Regions from separate parts of the Homo sapiens genome. Here regions 1, 2, 3, 4 and 6 are each linked to region 5. The links are contacts of gene promoters, found by promoter capture Hi-C in blood cells and fetal thymus (Javierre and others, 2016). All regions are on one chromosome and are shown on one strand. Each heading gives the region's core, a stretch centred on a gene start or on the middle of the fragment in contact. The rest is flanking DNA. Distances are from core to core; before and after follow the strand shown.

What was found. Contacts are between HindIII fragments. The CHiCAGO score rates a contact against its expected background, and 5 or more counts as called.
Region 1: a contact is called between the fragment with the promoter of FXYD6 here and the fragment with the promoter of TMPRSS4 in region 5, in 4 of 17 cell types (activated CD4 T cells, naive CD4 T cells, non-activated CD4 T cells and 1 more). The highest score is 6.1, in activated CD4 T cells.
Region 2: a fragment that was not itself captured here is called in contact with the fragment with the promoter of TMPRSS4 in region 5 in 2 of 17 cell types (activated CD4 T cells and naive CD4 T cells); the score reaches 5.4 in activated CD4 T cells.
Region 3: a fragment that was not itself captured here is called in contact with the fragment with the promoter of TMPRSS4 in region 5 in 11 of 17 cell types (activated CD4 T cells, total CD8 T cells, non-activated CD4 T cells and 8 more); the score reaches 9.9 in activated CD4 T cells.
Region 4: a fragment that was not itself captured here is called in contact with the fragment with the promoter of TMPRSS4 in region 5 in 6 of 17 cell types (total CD8 T cells, activated CD4 T cells, naive B cells and 3 more); the score reaches 5.8 in total CD8 T cells.
Region 6: a contact is called between a fragment that was not itself captured here and the fragment with the promoter of TMPRSS4 in region 5, in 1 of 17 cell types (activated CD4 T cells). The highest score is 5.2, in activated CD4 T cells.

What each region holds. Positions count from the first base shown.
Region 1 is chr11:117,875,306-117,878,005 of GRCh38, reverse strand. FXYD6 (FXYD domain containing ion transport regulator 6) reads left to right here and starts at 1,348. Exons shown (of 8, transcript NM_022003.4): 1 at 1,348-1,414. It overlaps FXYD6-FXYD2 (FXYD6-FXYD2 readthrough), which reads left to right and starts at 1,348. Exons shown (of 10, transcript NM_001243598.4): 1 at 1,348-1,414. The HindIII fragment of the contact is 14,206 bases long and covers 1-2,700 here.
Region 2 is chr11:117,923,447-117,926,146 of GRCh38, reverse strand. The region is part of intron 1 of TMPRSS13 (transmembrane serine protease 13); the gene reads left to right. Among named protein-coding and RNA genes, the nearest start is that of TMPRSS13, 4.6 kb to the left of the region's middle. The HindIII fragment of the contact is 4,391 bases long and covers 1-2,700 here.
Region 3 is chr11:117,850,031-117,852,730 of GRCh38, reverse strand. The region is part of intron 1 of FXYD6-FXYD2 (FXYD6-FXYD2 readthrough); the gene reads left to right. The region is part of intron 1 of FXYD6 (FXYD domain containing ion transport regulator 6); the gene reads left to right. Among named protein-coding and RNA genes, the nearest start is that of FXYD6-AS1, 18 kb to the right of the region's middle. The HindIII fragment of the contact is 4,307 bases long and covers 1-2,700 here.
Region 4 is chr11:117,940,330-117,943,029 of GRCh38, reverse strand. No RefSeq gene overlaps it. Among named protein-coding and RNA genes, the nearest start is that of TMPRSS13, 12 kb to the right of the region's middle. The HindIII fragment of the contact is 3,240 bases long and covers 1-2,700 here.
Region 5 is chr11:118,075,660-118,078,359 of GRCh38, reverse strand. It overlaps TMPRSS4 (transmembrane serine protease 4), which reads right to left and starts at 1,282. Exons shown (of 13, transcript NM_019894.4): 1 at 1,055-1,282. The coding sequence starts at 1,057. All of the region lies in intron 1 of SMIM35 (small integral membrane protein 35), which reads left to right. RefSeq lists an enhancer at 832-1,427. The HindIII fragment of the contact is 4,332 bases long and covers 1-2,700 here.
Region 6 is chr11:117,897,227-117,899,926 of GRCh38, reverse strand. No RefSeq gene overlaps it. Among named protein-coding and RNA genes, the nearest start is that of FXYD6-FXYD2, 22 kb to the right of the region's middle. The HindIII fragment of the contact is 2,210 bases long and covers 292-2,501 here.

The DNA of each region.
Region 1 (2,700 bases), core at 99-2,598, 200 kb after region 5:
AAGTCTTCTTGAGTTCATGTATATTTCCTGCCTTGGGGTTTTGAGACCTGACCTTTTATTAAAATAATTAGATCATCTAGGGCAGAGCTGGAAGAGACCTCAGGATCATCTAGTCCATCTCCCTATTTTCCCAAATGAGAAAACAGGCCCAGAACTGAGGGCAGCAGAGGCAGGGCTAGGTTTCTTCCTAGCAGTACCCATCATCCCCGGCTTGGGGTTTGTAAGGAACTCTCCGTGGCCCTACCTAGGCTTGGACAATCACAGCCTTTCTCAGTAGCTCCTCCCTCCACCCGGCTCGGCCATACACACACCTTGACTGAGGCTGGACAGCCTCCATCTCAGCATGGCTCCTGGCTACTGACACTTGTGCCTGGCCTCTGCCCCTTCCTACAAGCTCTGCCCCTAATAGTAAGAGCCAATTTCTTGAGCACTCACTATGAGCTAAGCCTCCCATGGGGTCAGTCTCTAATCACCATTTTCCCACGTGAGGAAATAGACTCAGGAGCTGAGTGCAGAGATATGCTCCAAGTCGCGTCACAGGCAGGGTTGCCGAGCCAGGATTTATTTACATCTTCACATTCAAAGTTCGTCATCATGAATTTTGACTCTTGGGGACTGGGCTGAGGACGGGGTGGTACTGCTCCTGGCAGGGCCAGAGGTGGATGGGGCTTGAAAAGGGGGTTCAAGGCAGCAGATCTATGGTTCAGGTAAGGACCATCCCCCCAGCTCCCCACCTGGCTCTAGCTGAAAATGACAACTACAACTGGAGCTGGCTCCTGCGCCCACGACACAGCCATTCATGCTTTTGGTGCACATTCCCCTTAATTACCAAGGCTCCCAATTAACGTGGGCTGCTGTGTCTGGTGCTGGGTTATTTTCTCCTATTTTTCCGTTCCTCGGGGTTTACTATTGCAGAGAGACACCAGGTCTGTCATTGTGCCTGTCTTGCTCCCTTCCCACCCTAACCAGAGGGAAACCGAAAAGCAACAGCTGATGGCAAATCCGCTCCGGCGCTTGCACGCCTCCTCGGCGGCAGTCTCCTGTTGCTTCTCGGAGCTTGACTGCCCTTTGGAAAAATCTCTCCGCCCCTCGAGAGGAGAGAGGAGCAGAGGACGCGCGCGAGCACAGAGCGGGAGGACGGACAGGGAGAGGAGGAGAGGGGGTCTGCGCGCGGCCGCTACCCAGAAGCCAGCGGACGGCAGCACGGAGTGGGCTGTCCCCGAGCCCAGCCCCGAGCGAGCCCCCCCCCCGCCCCCGCAGGACGCGCCTCCCAGCCAGCCCGACTCCTAGGAGGAGGGGAGGCGGGAAAGCAGCTCAAGCCTCACCCACCGCCCTGCCCCCAGCCCCGCCACTCCCAGGCTCCTCGGGACTCGGCGGGTCCTCCTGGGAGTCTCGGAGGGGACCGGCTGTGCAGGTAGGCGGCTGGGGAGGTGGGCAAAGTTGGCTCCTTTTTCCGAGGAGGGGCGAGGCTCGGTGGGGACCGATCTCTGGAGCGCCGGGAGCGCCGGGTTTTGTGTGTTCAGTGGGTGTGTGCGGTCCTCCGCGGTCAGCTGCGCCGCGGTCCCCGCCTGGGCAGCGGGAAACCGGGCTGGGGATGTAAACAAGGAGATCGGCGTCGGAAGAGAGAGGAGCCTCTAGGGGAGGCAGGCTGTGGCGCTGGGGGTGACGCTGGTGGCTGGGAATTGCTCTCGGTGCTGCCTTGAGCTTGGGGTCAGGGTTTTCAGGAGAAGGGGAAAGGGCTGCGCCCACCCTTTATCCATGAGGAGTTTTCCCTTTGTTACTTGGAAGCTGTGGACACTTGGTGGAGCGTGGGGAATTACGGACGAGGGCGTGTGGCTGGGTGTGAGTGTGGACTTATGAGCGACACAAAATGGAACTTGCTGGTTTGGTGCTTGGGGAAGGTGGGGCTGGGCAGTGGGCACAGGATGGGGGCGCAGGGAAAGAAGGATTCTAGCGCTCGGGGATTCATGAGAGTGCATCATTTTTTCCCTCCTTCTTGTCTTATCCATCCAATCCTGTTTCCTTTCCGGGGGGCCCTGGGGTCCGCCATTGCCCCCTTTCCCCAGCAGGGCTGGCCCTGGCAGAGCCTCCCCTATTGTGTCTCCCGGGCTTCCGTGGAGAGTTGGGTGTGCAGCCTGGAGCTCCCAGCGCTGGCTTCTGGCTCTTACAAGTGGTGGCTGGTAGAGGAGGCACCCGAGGGTGGGAGCTGGGAGCAGCCTCGCTGGAAACATGGGTCTGCCGCGTCACCTGCTGCAAGCCTGCACGCTCGCGGGACCGTGGCTACTGGAGGCTTCTCCCCACCAGTGTGCTCTCTGCCACTACTTCCTTTGTCTCTGTGGCTTCGTGCTGTCTGGCTGGGCTAAGATTTCCAGCTTTGAAGATGGATCAGTGGGCATCTCAGGCCCTCTCTGAAAGGAGCCCCCTTTGGGGATCCAGCCACCCTCATATTATGGATGTGTATGTCTACGTCCGCAACTTAGCCTTTTGCACGTGACTTGCCTGGTCGTTGCCATGGAAACTCCTCCATTTCTCAGCCTCCCTCTTTCTCCTGCCCATTCCTCACCTCCATATCTCCTCCCCTCCCCCCAGTATGGTTGCCTAGATACTGGTTATCCCTGGCTAGGAGACCTAGATATCTGGCTCCTACACCCAATTGCAGTGGCCCCTTACTCACACCACCCACTTCACACACACTGCACA
Region 2 (2,700 bases), core at 119-2,618, 150 kb after region 5:
CCAAGGACCCTGGCACCTGCCCTATGCCTCTGCAGGTGTGCATCCCTCACCTCGTCCTCCAAGGACCCTGGCACCTGCCCTATGCCCCTGCAGGTGTGCAGCCTTCACCTCGTCCTCCAAGGACCCTGGTACCTGCCCTGTGCCCCTGCAGGTGTGCAGCCCTCACCTTGTCCTCTGTTTCATGTTGTCATTGGTGAGGAGCAGACTTCCTTTGGCACAGCCACCTCGATTTCCCCTGCATTGTCCCCTGAGACTTGGCAGATGTGAGCGTAAGCGTGCGGGAGTGTGTGTATTGGGCCCTGGGCTGGGGAGCTGGGTGGGAAGGACAACTGATGTAACAATGGCCACTTAGCTTAAGTGTCTTGTTTTGGCAGAACAGATTCCTCTTGGTATAGCAACAACAAGGGTGGATGTGCCTGGCCAAGTGGGCAGGGCACTGGTGGTGCAGGCATGAGGGAAGCCACCACAGGGAACCCTGGCTTTAGCCGTCAAGTGGAGGCCTTGACAGCACCAGATGGGGGTTGGTTTCCCTAGGAGGGAAGCAATACCCAAAACTTTAGAGGGGCCCCCATTATGTACCAGCCCTGAGTGTGTCACTACCCTAGGACTGGCAGCAAGAGAAGGCACAGACACAGGGAAACATTGAGGCAGCAAGTTCCTGGGCAATCAAACATTATTTGCTGGGCAATAGTGGGCACTCCATGTTCTTTACAGCATTTGATAAATGAATGAATGAATGAGTGAATGAACGAATGAATGAACAAGGAGGCGTCTTGATTCTGGTCTAACAGGGATTCCTTGAGCTTTTTCATGTGCACAGGAGGCATCGGAAACTAGAAGGGACTTCAGCACTTACTCTGGCCAGTCCCTTTCAAGTTCGTTGTAGCAGCTGCCTCTTTTGTTCAAATGAATGTTATGTTGACTCCGCTGTATGAAACTGAAAGGTCGGTCTTCTCTGTTGAGGTGGGGTAAGGGCTCAGAGCCCACCACAGTCCCCACCAGCTGGTCTGCAAGGCACCTCCACGGAAACTGAAATGCTCTGTGGAACCCTGTTTGAAAACTGCTGATTGTCCAACACCCTTAATTTATTGAAGAGGGAGCTGAGGCCCAGAGAAGGATGTGACTGTCCCCAAGGTCACACGGCGGCCTAGGAGCAGAAGCGAGGCTCCCCGTGCCCCCCACCCCCAGGGCGAGGCAGACCCTGCAGCTCTGGCCCCTTCCAGAGTTCAGTCTGCCTCAAGGGCTGACCCAAGTCCCTGAGCTGTATACTGCGTGTGTGCTGGAGATGCTGGTGCTGGGTGAGGAGGTGGTGGGGAAGATGCCTGTGTGCTGAGGAGAGCCTGTATTTGTGGGGTTTCTCTGGGTTCGGGGAGGGGGAGAGTAGGAAAGGGCCTTGGGAACCTGGAGGTACAGTGAAGCCTGGGTCTAGCCGTGAGAAAGGGAAAAAAGTCACCCAGTCCAGCCGGGCCCTCGCTGGGAAGGGTTCAGGCCTCCCCTGCCACAACCCCAGGGCTCCCCAGGTTCCCAACAGGCAAGGAGGGTTTTTAGGCTCTGTCAAAGGGAGATCCTGATCTTTCTCAGTGCCGCCAGTGCTTCCAGAAGGGTTTAGTGAGGGGTTTTTCTTCCTGCCTAGCCCAGAGTGCTGGGTTGTTGGCCCATGGTCTGCCCGTGCCCACCCTATGGGCGCCCTTGATGCCCAGGGTCACTGGAAAAGGGACGCTGCCACGGGGGCCTCTGTCTGGGAAGGGTCCTTTCTCATGGAGGCTGGTAAGGGACAGAGAGGGGAAGAGCAGAGTGTTGTGTAACAGCCCAAGGATGGGGGCCAGAAGATCATGGTTCTAGAATTGGCACCGTCCCCACCTGGCTGTGTGTCCGTGAGCAAGTCACACAGCCTTTCTGGGCCTTCATCGCCTCAACAATAGTATAAAGGGCTTGGGTAGGTTTTCTTTTCTTTTCTTTTCTTTTCTTTGAGATGGGGTCTTGCTATGTTGCCTAGGTTGGTCTTCAGCTTCTGGCCTCAAGCCATTTTCCCACCTCAGCCTCCCAAGTAGCTGGGACTACAGGCCGGCGCCACCACGCCCAGCTTAGAGGGTTTTCAGAATCTTTGCAACTCTGACAGCCTGTGATATGCCCAACCCTGGGTGGTAGCTTTACGAAGGGATGGCCCAGGGCTGAGGAGGGAGGCCCAATTGGCTTAAACTGGACTGAAACGGGCCCTGATGCACCCGCCCTCAGGCCATGAAGCAGCTACTGCTCCCTGCTGGACATTCTTCAGGACTAGAAGGAGAGCTTTTTTTTTTTTTTTTTTAATTATTATACTTTAAGTTCTAGGGTACATGTGCACAACGTGCAGGTTTGTTACATATGTATACATGTGCCGTGTTGGTGTGCTGCACCCATTAACTCGTCCTTTACATTAGGTATTTCTCCTAATGCTATCCCTCCCCCGTCTCCCCACTCCCCGACAGGCCCTGGTGTGTGATGTTCCCCATCCTGTGTCCAAGTGTTCTCATTGTTCAATTGCGGGAGAGCTTTTTATAGGGTGGTTCACACTGCAAGCCCAGGCTCTGGGGGACCTGAAGTGCATATTTCCCAAGTTCAGGCTGCTGCTTATGGCTGAAGAACTCTCATTATGCAGAGCCTGGGGCTCGATCCACAGCAGCAGCTCCATAACCACTGAGATGAAGCAACCATGAGCCC
Region 3 (2,700 bases), core at 167-2,666, 230 kb after region 5:
TGGGGAGAATGGAGGAGAGGCCATATTTGAAGAGATAAGAATTTTTCATAACGATGAAAAGGATGAACCTATAGGTAAAGGACTTTCAAGTCTGATGAAACTCACGACAATCAGTTCTATGTTGTGTTTCAGACTTGTGATGAAACCCACAACAGCAAACACAAAAAGAAGAAAATAAAAGGAGGCAGAGAAGAAAGATAGGACATCTATAAAGGAATGATGATATAAGCAGCAGACTTCTCAACAGCAATCATGGAAGCCAGATAGCAGTGGAATAACATCTTAAAAGTGCAGAGCAAAAATAATTATCAGCCTAGAATTGTGTACATAGCCAAACTACCTTTCAAGGTTAGGATTGTATTAGTTTTCTATTGCTGCATAACAAACGATCACAGACCCAGCAGCTTAAAGCAACACATGTTTATTATGTAATGGTTTCTTTAGGTCAGAGGTCTGGCACAGCTTAGCTGAATTTTCTGCTTCAGCATCATACCGAACTACAGTCTAGGTGCTGGCTAAGGTTGTGGTCTGATAAGAGAATTGACTGGGGAAAGATCTGCCTCCAGACTCCCTCAGGTTGCTGGCAGTATTCATCTCCTTGTGGTAGAAGAACTGAGGTTCCCATCTTCTTGCTGGCTTCTGGCCAGGGGCAGCTGTCAGCTGCTAGAGGCTTCCCACAATTCCTTATCCTGTGCTTCTCTCCGTAGCCTGTCTCATGACATAGCAGCTTGCTTTTTCAAGCCAGCAAGGGAGAAAATTCTCGAGCTCCAGCCTGCAAGATTGAGTCTTATATGATATAACACCATCATCTGAGAGCTGTCCTTTTGCCACTTTTGCCACATTCTGTTGGTTAAAAGTGTGTTGCAGCTCCTGCCAGTATTCAAAGGAAAGAGATTACTCAAAGCATTGAACACTAGAAGGCTGGAATGACTGGGGATCGCCGTAGGGTCTCTTGCCATAAAGGTGAAATGAAAACATTTCCAAATAAACAGAAACAGAGTTTCTAACGAACAGATCTTCATTAAAGAAAATTTTGAAAGATGTTCTTTAGGAATAAAGAAAATGGCATGAAGGATGACTAACGTTCAAAAACAATGGTGAACAAATCAGTACATATGTTGTAAATTCATTATCTATTGCTGCATAGCAAATTACTTCCAAACTCAGCAGCCTAAAACAGCAAACGTTTGATATTTCACACAGTTTCTGAGGGTATGGAATCAGGGAGAATCTTCAGTGGGTGGTTCTGGCTCAAGGTCTTTCATGAAGCCGGAAGATCTGTTTCCAAGCTCACTTATGTGGTTCATGGCAGGCTGTATTTCTTAGCAGGCTTTTGGAGTGAGGCCACCACATGGGCCTCTCCACAGGGGTGCCTGAATATCCTTAAGACATGGCAGCTAGCTTGACTCAGAACAAGCAATCCGAGAGGGAGGGAGAGAGAGAGAGAGCACACAAGAGGCTGTGTTGCTTTTTATAACCTCATATCGAAAGTGACATACCATTACTTCTGCCATATTTTCCTGGTCATACAGACCAACCCTGGTGCAGTGTGGGAGGGGACTGTACAAGGATCTGAATACTAGGAGATACTGGGAGCTGTCTTGCAGGCTGGCTACTACACACATGGGTGAATCCAAACAAACATAGTTTTCATGAAGTACGAATATTAGTATCTATTTTATAGAATTTTAAAAAGAACTGAAATATTCTCCAATAATAGCATATGTATCAGGAAGGGGATGATTTGTATTTTTGTATTTTCAAGGAGGGTATTCTGCCTAATAACTATTATAAGTATTAACTCTGAATTTTTTTGGTCTTTTTTACATTGAATACACATGGAAAAATTACAAAGATGACCACTAAAAGATTAAAATAGTTTCTATAATTTCTAAACCAGTAGAGGGAGAAAAGGAATAAGAAAAAAAAAAATCACTAAGCTAGGGGCAGTGGCTCATGCCTATAATCCCAGCACTTTGGGAGGCCAAGGCAGGCAGATCACCTGAGCCCAGGAGTTCGAGACCAGCCTACGTAACATAGTGAGACCGCCCCCCAAAAAAATAAAAATAAAAATAACTAATCCAGAAAAAAGAAAGGGCAAGGAAAGAAAAAGAAACAAGCACATTCCCATAGGGAAAAAACAGATGGCAGAAAGCAGACCAACTACATCAATAGTCACAATAAGTAAATTAAATGGGGTAAATTTGACAATTAATACAGAAAGCCTGACAATACAGAATTTTTCAAAAATCCATCTCTTTGCTGTTTATAAGATGCACACACAACACATAAGGACACAGAAAGGTAGAGAGTAACATAGAATTTAAGACAGGGAGGATCACTACATAATTCTAAAAGACCCAACTCAGAGGACAGTAACAGTTTTAAACTATCTGTTAGAATATTCTAAGAGACATGTTATCGGCCAGCTTCAGGTCTGTTCTGCCCACACTCAGTAAATCTCAGTAAATCAATCACTGTGACACAGATTTTGCAAAAGAGAAAAGATTTATTCAGAAGACCACCAAGCAAGGAGGCCGGAGAACGGCTCTCAAATCCGCCTCCCCAAAGATAAGGCTTAGGGATATTTACTGTTAAGGGAAGTGGGGTGGTCTGAGGCATAGGGAAAGGTGATTGGCAGTGGGGAGAAATGAAATGGCAGATTCATTCTGAGCAAGCGTAGTCAGGGTTTGTGGCATT
Region 4 (2,700 bases), core at 61-2,560, 140 kb after region 5:
TGATAGCCCAAAAGGGGAAACAATTCAAACGGCTATCACCTGATGAATAGATAAATAAAATGTGGCATATCCACACAATGGAGTGTTATCCACAGTTATTCACAATACAAAGAAATGAAGTACTGATACAAGCGTCAAGTCCAAGGGAAAAATTCTGCTTCACCCTCTGAAGTTTTGTTGAAAATCACTCACATAAGGCAGATTAATAGGAGAAAAGGTACATAAATTTATTTGACCATAGTTTTAGGTGACACAGGAGCTTTCAGAATGAAGACCCAAAGATACAGGGGAAGTTGTCCATTTTTATGCTTAGGTTCAACAAAGTATAGACAGCTGTGTGGAGAAATACGATTGGACAAAAAGGGTCTGATCTAATGCTAACAGAGTGAGTATGGAAATCCAGCAAGGCTGTCCATCTAGATTTTTGTTGACCCCTTTGAGCATGTGTTCCTTCCTTCTGGGTATGAGGGTCTAATGAACTACAGTCAGGTAAGGTAGGTCACATCATGTTTTATGGCCAGTTTTTACACTGGCGGTGTGGAGTTGGGGAGAGAGATTGATACTTTTAGGTTTTATGGCTGGCTTTGGAGAAAAGGAGTTTGGGTTTCTATGACCCACCTTGGAAAAGAGGGATTCCAGTCTCAACGGCTGGCCTCGGGGGAGAATGGGACTGAGAAACAGGAGGGCAGGAGCAGGTCAGAGAAAAACTTTTGTTTCTGAGGTCTTCATTTTGAGGTGTTGTTTTCTGAGTCCCAACATAAGCCACAGCGCAGATGGACCTTGAAAATATGATGATGAATGAAAGGAGCCAGCCACAGAAGACCACACACTGCATGAGTCCACTTACAGGAAATGACCAGAATAGACACATCTACAGGCACAGAAAGTAGATTCGTGGTTGCCTTAGGGCTTGGGGGAGGGAAGCTGGGGAAGTAAGTGCTAAAGAGTAGGGTATTTCTTTTGGGAATGATGAAAATGTTCTAACGTTTATTGTGATGGTCAATCTTACACAACCCTGAATATACCAAAAACCATCTAATTGTATACTTTAAATGGGTGAACAGTATGGTATGTAAATTCTATCTCAATACAGCTGTTAAAATTTTATGGTGAAATGAATGAATGGATCTGCCCCTTCCGATAGCCTCCTGGCTCTAGAGGAGACACAGCAGGTGGCCCTTGTCCCATGAGCTGGTCTCTGGACCTAGAAATGCACAATTGACAGGTGGCAACTCATACTATTTGTGAACATGCACCCTCCCCGTCTAGGACCTCAGCTCCCTGGCCTTTGGAAGTGCTGGGAGATGGTGGGAAGGGGTCTTGGAGGGCCAGACAAGGTCCAGGCTCAGGAAGCACTTCTGGCAATGTTCTCCCAGCTCTCTGCATCTAGAACAAAGCATTCTTAGTCAGCTGGGCTCACCCCACCCGGAGTAATTACCCTCGTTAGCCCCTCTGTGTGTGTCATCTGCACACATAGGTAATTAAACTGAACGAGGGGCCGTGACTCAGCTGCTCTGCCTCACACCAGCCCTGGCCCAGTGCAGACTGGGAGAACTGGCTCTGCCAGGCACTGGGGGTGAGTGGACAGCCAGGGCACCTGGTGCTGAGCAGAGGATCAGGTGGTGGCACAGGAGGACTCTCTGGTCTTCCTTACTCCTCATCCCAAAACTGGAACCTAGAGCAAGTGGGCCCCAGGTGGGTCCAGGCAGGGCTGAAGATGGTTGGCTGGTTAAACTTGGGGTTAGCCTTGAGGCTCTGAACTCACTCCTATGCCACAGCCTGTGGTTCAGTGTTGAACCAAAGGAGCCTGGGGCAGCCTCAGACTCTGAGGCATGGGCTGAGGCCTAGGAGGACAGACCAAGCACAGGAAGTGGGTCTTTAGAATCCTGGCCTCTCAAATACCCTGCCGCAAGATGTCAGAGGGCTGCTCTGGAATCAGAAGTTTAAGGGAACAACTGCTCAGAAGAGAGGATCTCTGAAATTCCTTCCAGTTCCCATGTTCTGCGCGTCCGATTGTTAATATCCGCTGCACACTTACTCTGTGTGACGGCTCTACCCACACGATCTCATTTCATACCCACATCCCTATACGGCAGATCCTGTTCTCCTGCCTGGATTACAGAGGAGGACATGGAGGATTGAGAAGTCAATTATTTGCTCCAAGTCACAGGCCTTCCATGTAGTGGAGCCTGTATTCAAATCCAGGTCTGCCTGACTCAGAGACCAAGGTCTCAACCATCCATTGCCCATACTCCTTAAATCTATAATTCTAGAAATCCAGGCTCTCCTTCTAGTTAACTTTGAAGAATGTATGTGTGATGTAAGAACCATCTCATGAGAGTAGAGCTGTGATTAATTCAATTAGGGTTATTTTATAGGACACAGTAATTTTTCTTTGTGATGAGAAGACCACAAGAAGCAATTAAGTTATTAAGCAACTATTGTTTGGTACATAGTAGAGATTCAATAAAGGCTTATTTATTGAATAACTGATTGCCTAGATTTGTGCTAGATCTTCTGAGGGGATGCAAAAGAATTCTATCAATCAATTAGTAAGTATTTATTGAGTGCATGGTATAGGCAAAGTACTGGTCAATGTTAGCAGGCAGACCAGACTTCTTTGGATTTTTAAATTTTGGCAATTAATTCAGATAATAATACTGTCCAAATGGAATGAAATACATCTGTTAATCCAGCTTG
Region 5 (2,700 bases), core at 33-2,532:
GCTTCTCCTTTCCTCTCTTCCCTTCCCTTTCACTTTGGTGGCTGGGCAATTGCTGCCTCTTGGCCAAGGACTGGAGAAGGAAGACCCCTGGGTTCCTCCTCAGACCCAGTTATTATCTCTTCCCCTCCCTGGCCCTCAGCTGTCCTCCTTGAAAGATAGGGTTGATTCTCTTTGCCCCAAGACAGCGAAGACGCTCCAGGTATTCAGAGGAGGAGGAGAGAGGGTGAGGGCATGAAAAGAGACCAAGTAAAAGATGACCACAAACACCCTAGATTGTTTGGAGGCATCTCTGCACTGTTTTCTTTTCCTTCTTTCTTTTTTTTTTTTTTTTTTTTTTTTTTTTTTTGAGACGGAGTTTCACTCTTGTTGCCCAGGTTGGAGTGCAATGGCACAATCTTGGCTCACCACAACCTCCGCCTCCCAAGTTCAAGCGATTCTCCTGCCTCAGCCTCCCAAGTAGCTGGGATTACAGGCACCTGCCACCACGCCTGGCTAATTTTTTGTATTTTTAGTACGGATGGGGTTTCACCATACTGGCCAGGCTGGTCTCAAACTCCTGACCTCGAGAGATCTGTCTGCCTCAGCCTCGCAAAGTGCTGGGACTACAGGCGTGAGCCACTGCACCCAGTCTACACTTTTCTTTAAAAAGAAAAGGAATCAGTTTCCCCAGGGAGTGGCAGAGGGCAACCGTGGCATCAGAACAGCCCCCTGCCTTGGAAAAATAGTGCCAACCTCTAACCAACAGACCTGGAGACATTGGGCAAAAGAACATGCAGGATTCAGGAAAGAATAGTCGGGAAGGACAGCCCTGGCTCTGTGCTCAGCTTCTTAGGTGAGCTGGTCCAAGGACCATGGCAATGGAGGAAGAGAGGAAGGCAGGTGGGTATGAGACGTGTACCGGGCTGGGGTGTGAGGGGATTTGGGTGTGGCCTCTTTTTTTAACCTAGAAGGTGTCACAGAATTCTCAGCTGATGGATGCTCAGGCTGCTTGAAGGGCCTTACATGGGGAGACCCACCCTTCCTGTGTCTTGGGAGCAGAGGGCCCCACACTCACCATGCTGGCTCTGTGATCCTCCCGGTCTCCCTGTAGCCTGGAGCTGAGATTGTCACCCCAAGGCAGCAGGAGGGCCTCCCCACACAGGTCCTGGCTGGCCAGCAGGTCAGAAGTCCCTGGTCAGCACTGGCTGGAGGAGGCCCGAGTGCAGGGCAGGCCTTGGTCCCTCACGCCCAGCATCCTTGTCCGCTGAGCAAGCTGCTGCCTCTCTCTGTGTATTCCAGGAGTGATTGGGGGACTTTGGGCAGCTTGATTAAAACAGCCCTACAAGTGAAGTTGCCAAACTGGAATGATTATGTGTCTTGTAACCTGACACCTATCTTAGGGGCTGGAACAACACCTGAAGTCATTCATGGGACCTTCGGCCTCAGAACAGGTGACACACCTAAGGCGTAACAAAAGCCTTCCCGCCTGAATGACTTCCACCCAACTGGGTGTTGGCTGAGGGTGATGCCAGAAGTTTCCGCCCCCCCTCCCCCTACCTTCTAGGTGCATGACTTCTCACTGTGTGGGTGCTTTGGTTTGGGGTTGTGGGAAGTTGGAGTGGTCTGGGGGTTGGGCGACAGGGTTTGCAGCTCAGTACAAAGAGATCATTGCCAGGTGTGGAGCAATAGGATTGGAAAGTCCACAGAGAAGGAGGGAGTTTCTTCTCTTAGGGAGGTAAGATGTACCCCCTTTCCCTGGATCCCAGAAGTGAAGCTGTCCTGCACAGAGCCAATGTACTAGTGCTTCCTGCCCCTGCCTCAGCAGCCGTTCAATATTCTGAAAATCACTATTGGTGCTCTGGCTAGAGCCCACGTCTCCTCGTCCACGGAGTCATTTCCTTCTTTCTTTCTTTCTTTTTTTCTTTTCTTTTTTTAAGACAGGGTCTCTCTCTGTCCCCCAGGCTGGAGTGCAGGGGCGCAATCTCAGCTCACTGCAACCTCCGCCTCCTAGGTTCAAGCAATTCTCGTGCTCCAGCCTCTCGAGTAGCTGGGACTACAGCCACCTGCCACCACACCCAGCTAAGTTTTGTGTTTTTGTATTTTATTTTATTTTGAGACAGAGTCTCTGTTGCCCAGGCTGGAGTGCAGTGGCGCGATCTTGGCTCACTGCAACCTCCACCTCCCAGGTTCAAGTGATTCTCCTGCCTCAGCCTCCCAAGTAGCTGCTGGGATTACAGGTGTTGTGCGCCACCATGCCTGGCTAATTTGTATTTTTAGTAGAGATGGGGTTTTGCCATGTTGGCCAGGCTGGTCTCAAACACCTGGCTTCAACTGATCCACCTGCCTCAGCCTCCCAAAGTGCTGTGATTATGGCGTGAGCCACCGCACCCAGCCCCACAGGATCATTTCTGATTCACGTTCTGCCACATCCTGATAGCTGGAGCTGCCCCCTGGCCAGGGGATGTGCAAGGTGAAACCTTACAGCCACAGATATTTTGCTGGGAGAGACTTGGATAATTGTCCACATTGTTCCCCCATTCTGTGGGCGACAAAACTAAATTCCAGAGAGGCAAAGTCAATGACCCAAAGTCACATAATGAATTAGTGTCTGGTTCCATATGAATCCAGATCTCCTTCCATTTCTCAGACCTGACCCTCCCAGGAGACCAGCCTGGGTTAGACGTGTGTATTTGTCCTTCTGTTGATAACGTGCTTCTGTGT
Region 6 (2,700 bases), core at 147-2,646, 180 kb after region 5:
CCCACAAGCATCCAGCCTCTGGATACCCTGAACTTGATTGCTTTAGTCTTTCATATCAATGCCAGGGAAAGTCCTTCTTTTGATTCCTTTCTTGCTCTATCTGCACAAGAAGGTACAGGGGAGGTGGCAGGTGCCACGCTTACTATATTCCTAGGAGGGGTGACACTGACTGTAATAGATCCTACAGTTTCTGACAATTTCAATGGTTTAACCTAATTGAAGTTTATTTTGCATCCATGCAACAATCCTGTAAGGGTGTTCTGATCAGAGGGAGACTTTCTTCCACAAGCTTTTTCCATCTTGGGAGTTTGTCATCCACATTGTTGTCTACTTCTAGCCAGAAAGAAAATATAAAAAAGACTCATTCACTCCTTAAGTGCTCTAGCCCGGAAGTCATTTCCACTGACATTTTATGGGTACAGACATGTCATATGTGACATGTGGCACCACCTAGACAAAATTGGGCTGGGAAAGGCAGTCCTTGGCAGATCCCCCTGCAGGAGCCAGCACTCATTTCAGAGGACAACCAGCCATCTCCACTCACCATAGGAAGGTGGCTGCATCCTCAGAAGCCCAGCCTGGGCAGAAACTTAGAGCTTAGGCCATTTCTGTTTCTTTCCCCTTAGAAAGCAGACACTTTCCTTTCTCTCTCAGGGCATTCCTAGGACATAAATTGACTGGCAGGGATGTAAGGGTATGGGAGGGGGGCAGGGAAATAAGTTAGAGAAAAAGCAGGATCTGGATGGGAAAAGAAAAATACATTCCTTTGGCCCAGGATATCTATAGAGGCTACCAAAATTAGGGATGGCGGGGGGTGATAGGGCATTCTAAACTGGCGCAGAATCTCCAGGGAACTGTGTGTGTGTTTTGGGCAGGGAGGTGGTTGCAGTGACATTGTCCTATGTCCCTGGAGCCTAGGCTCCTCCAAGTACCAGCCAAGCCTTCTGGCTTTGTCAACTCTATTGACTGCTGAATTTCCATAGAATTTATCTGGGAAAGGAGTGCCAAGTGAGTGTGCTGGGCAGGAGAAGGGGGAGGCTATTGCAGGGAGAGATGATGGCTCTTTACAGAAGGAGCCACTTACAGCCTAGCAGGTGCTCCAGCTGCCTCTGGGCTTTGGTTAGATTCCCAGGGATCATTGTTCCCCATAATCACTTAGCTGTGGTCCTGATGCAATTGGGTGGACATGGGGACACACATGTGAAGTCCCCGTGATGGCCATGATGAGGATAATGATAATAATAGCCAGCATTTGCTAAACGTTTGCTATGTGCCACATGCTGTGCTGGACACCTGATGTATATTATCTCCTGTGAGCACAAGAATCCCGTGAAGTGGACATTGTCTTCATTCCTAATTTACAGATGAGGAAACAAAGGCCAAGCAAAGTGAAATAAGCCTCCCAAACTACATGACTGCTGCATGGCAGAGGTGGATTTGAATCCAGGCTCTGACATGCAGCTGCTTTTTTACACTCTGCATTCAGCTGCTCTTTTACACTCTGCACCAGAGTCAGGTGGAATCCTCCCAAGTGGGACCTCATAGGCTCTGCTCTCTGGCTCTGCGTATCTTTCCAAGAGTGTCAGGGTGAGACAACTCCCCAGAGAAGGCTAGGCGCACCCATCAGAGTGTCACATGACCAGAGGCTTAGACCATGTGGTTTCTGGTAACTTGGACAAGTACATCATGAGTGGGAGGAGGCCCTCCTCCACCCCGGTCCCAAGTGGATGGTTTCTGGGATGCCCTGTCAAGTCACAACAAGCTGTCACCCAGGACACCTCCAAGTCTCCTTGATGTAGGTGGATGGCTCTGAAAGGAACATGCCATTCATTCCCCGTCTCCTGTGCACTGGCCCAGGCTTCCTGTCCCTAGGAAGGCTGCCACCCAGTCCAGTAAGTAAGCGTGCTGTACCGATCTTACAATGGGTCCTCCCAGAGAACAGGGAGGACTGTGCTCAGGAGATAAACAGCCCTGGACCTTCTGGGACAGGAGGTCTTGAGACCTCTGAGAAAGGTGAGGGCATAGCCTGGTCTATGGTCCTCCACGGCTCACTCCTGCCAATGGGACATGGGAGGTGGACATAATAGGAGGCCTTCTCTGTCCAAGCCCTGAGTCCCAGAAAAGGTTGTCTACTTTTCATAGAAGGAAGGAGCTGGGAATCTGCTTTGAATAATTCCTTCTAATTACGCTGTGTTGTAGCAGAGAGAGCTCTGGAGTTGGAATCAAAGTACCTGGAGGTACAAATTCCAACTCTACTACTTACTCAGCTATGTGGTCTTAGACAAACCATCCTCTCTGTTTCTTCATATGTAAAATGGGTGTATCTGGCCTACATTCGTTGTGAGATTAAATGGTACGATCCATATAAACATGCAGGGCAAAGTGATTAGCATATCATGACCTCTCTGCATATGTTGAATTCGCAGCGAAAGGGTCAGATCCTTCACCCTCAGGCGCTTCATCAAACACATGACATAGGAGAGAGAATTTTGGATAAAGCTTCGAGTCCTAGGAAATTTGCCATGTCTCTCCATAAACTTTGTTCCTAGGCTTTTAGCAATGACCTGATCCTCCATGGAGGTGATGCTACCACCTAGGCCAGGTGGATATTCCCAGCTGGTGGTCCCTCTAAGTCGTGGAGCTCCATGACTTAGAGGAGCTCACCCCGCTCTCTCTTATCACTGACAGGGCCAGGAAAGC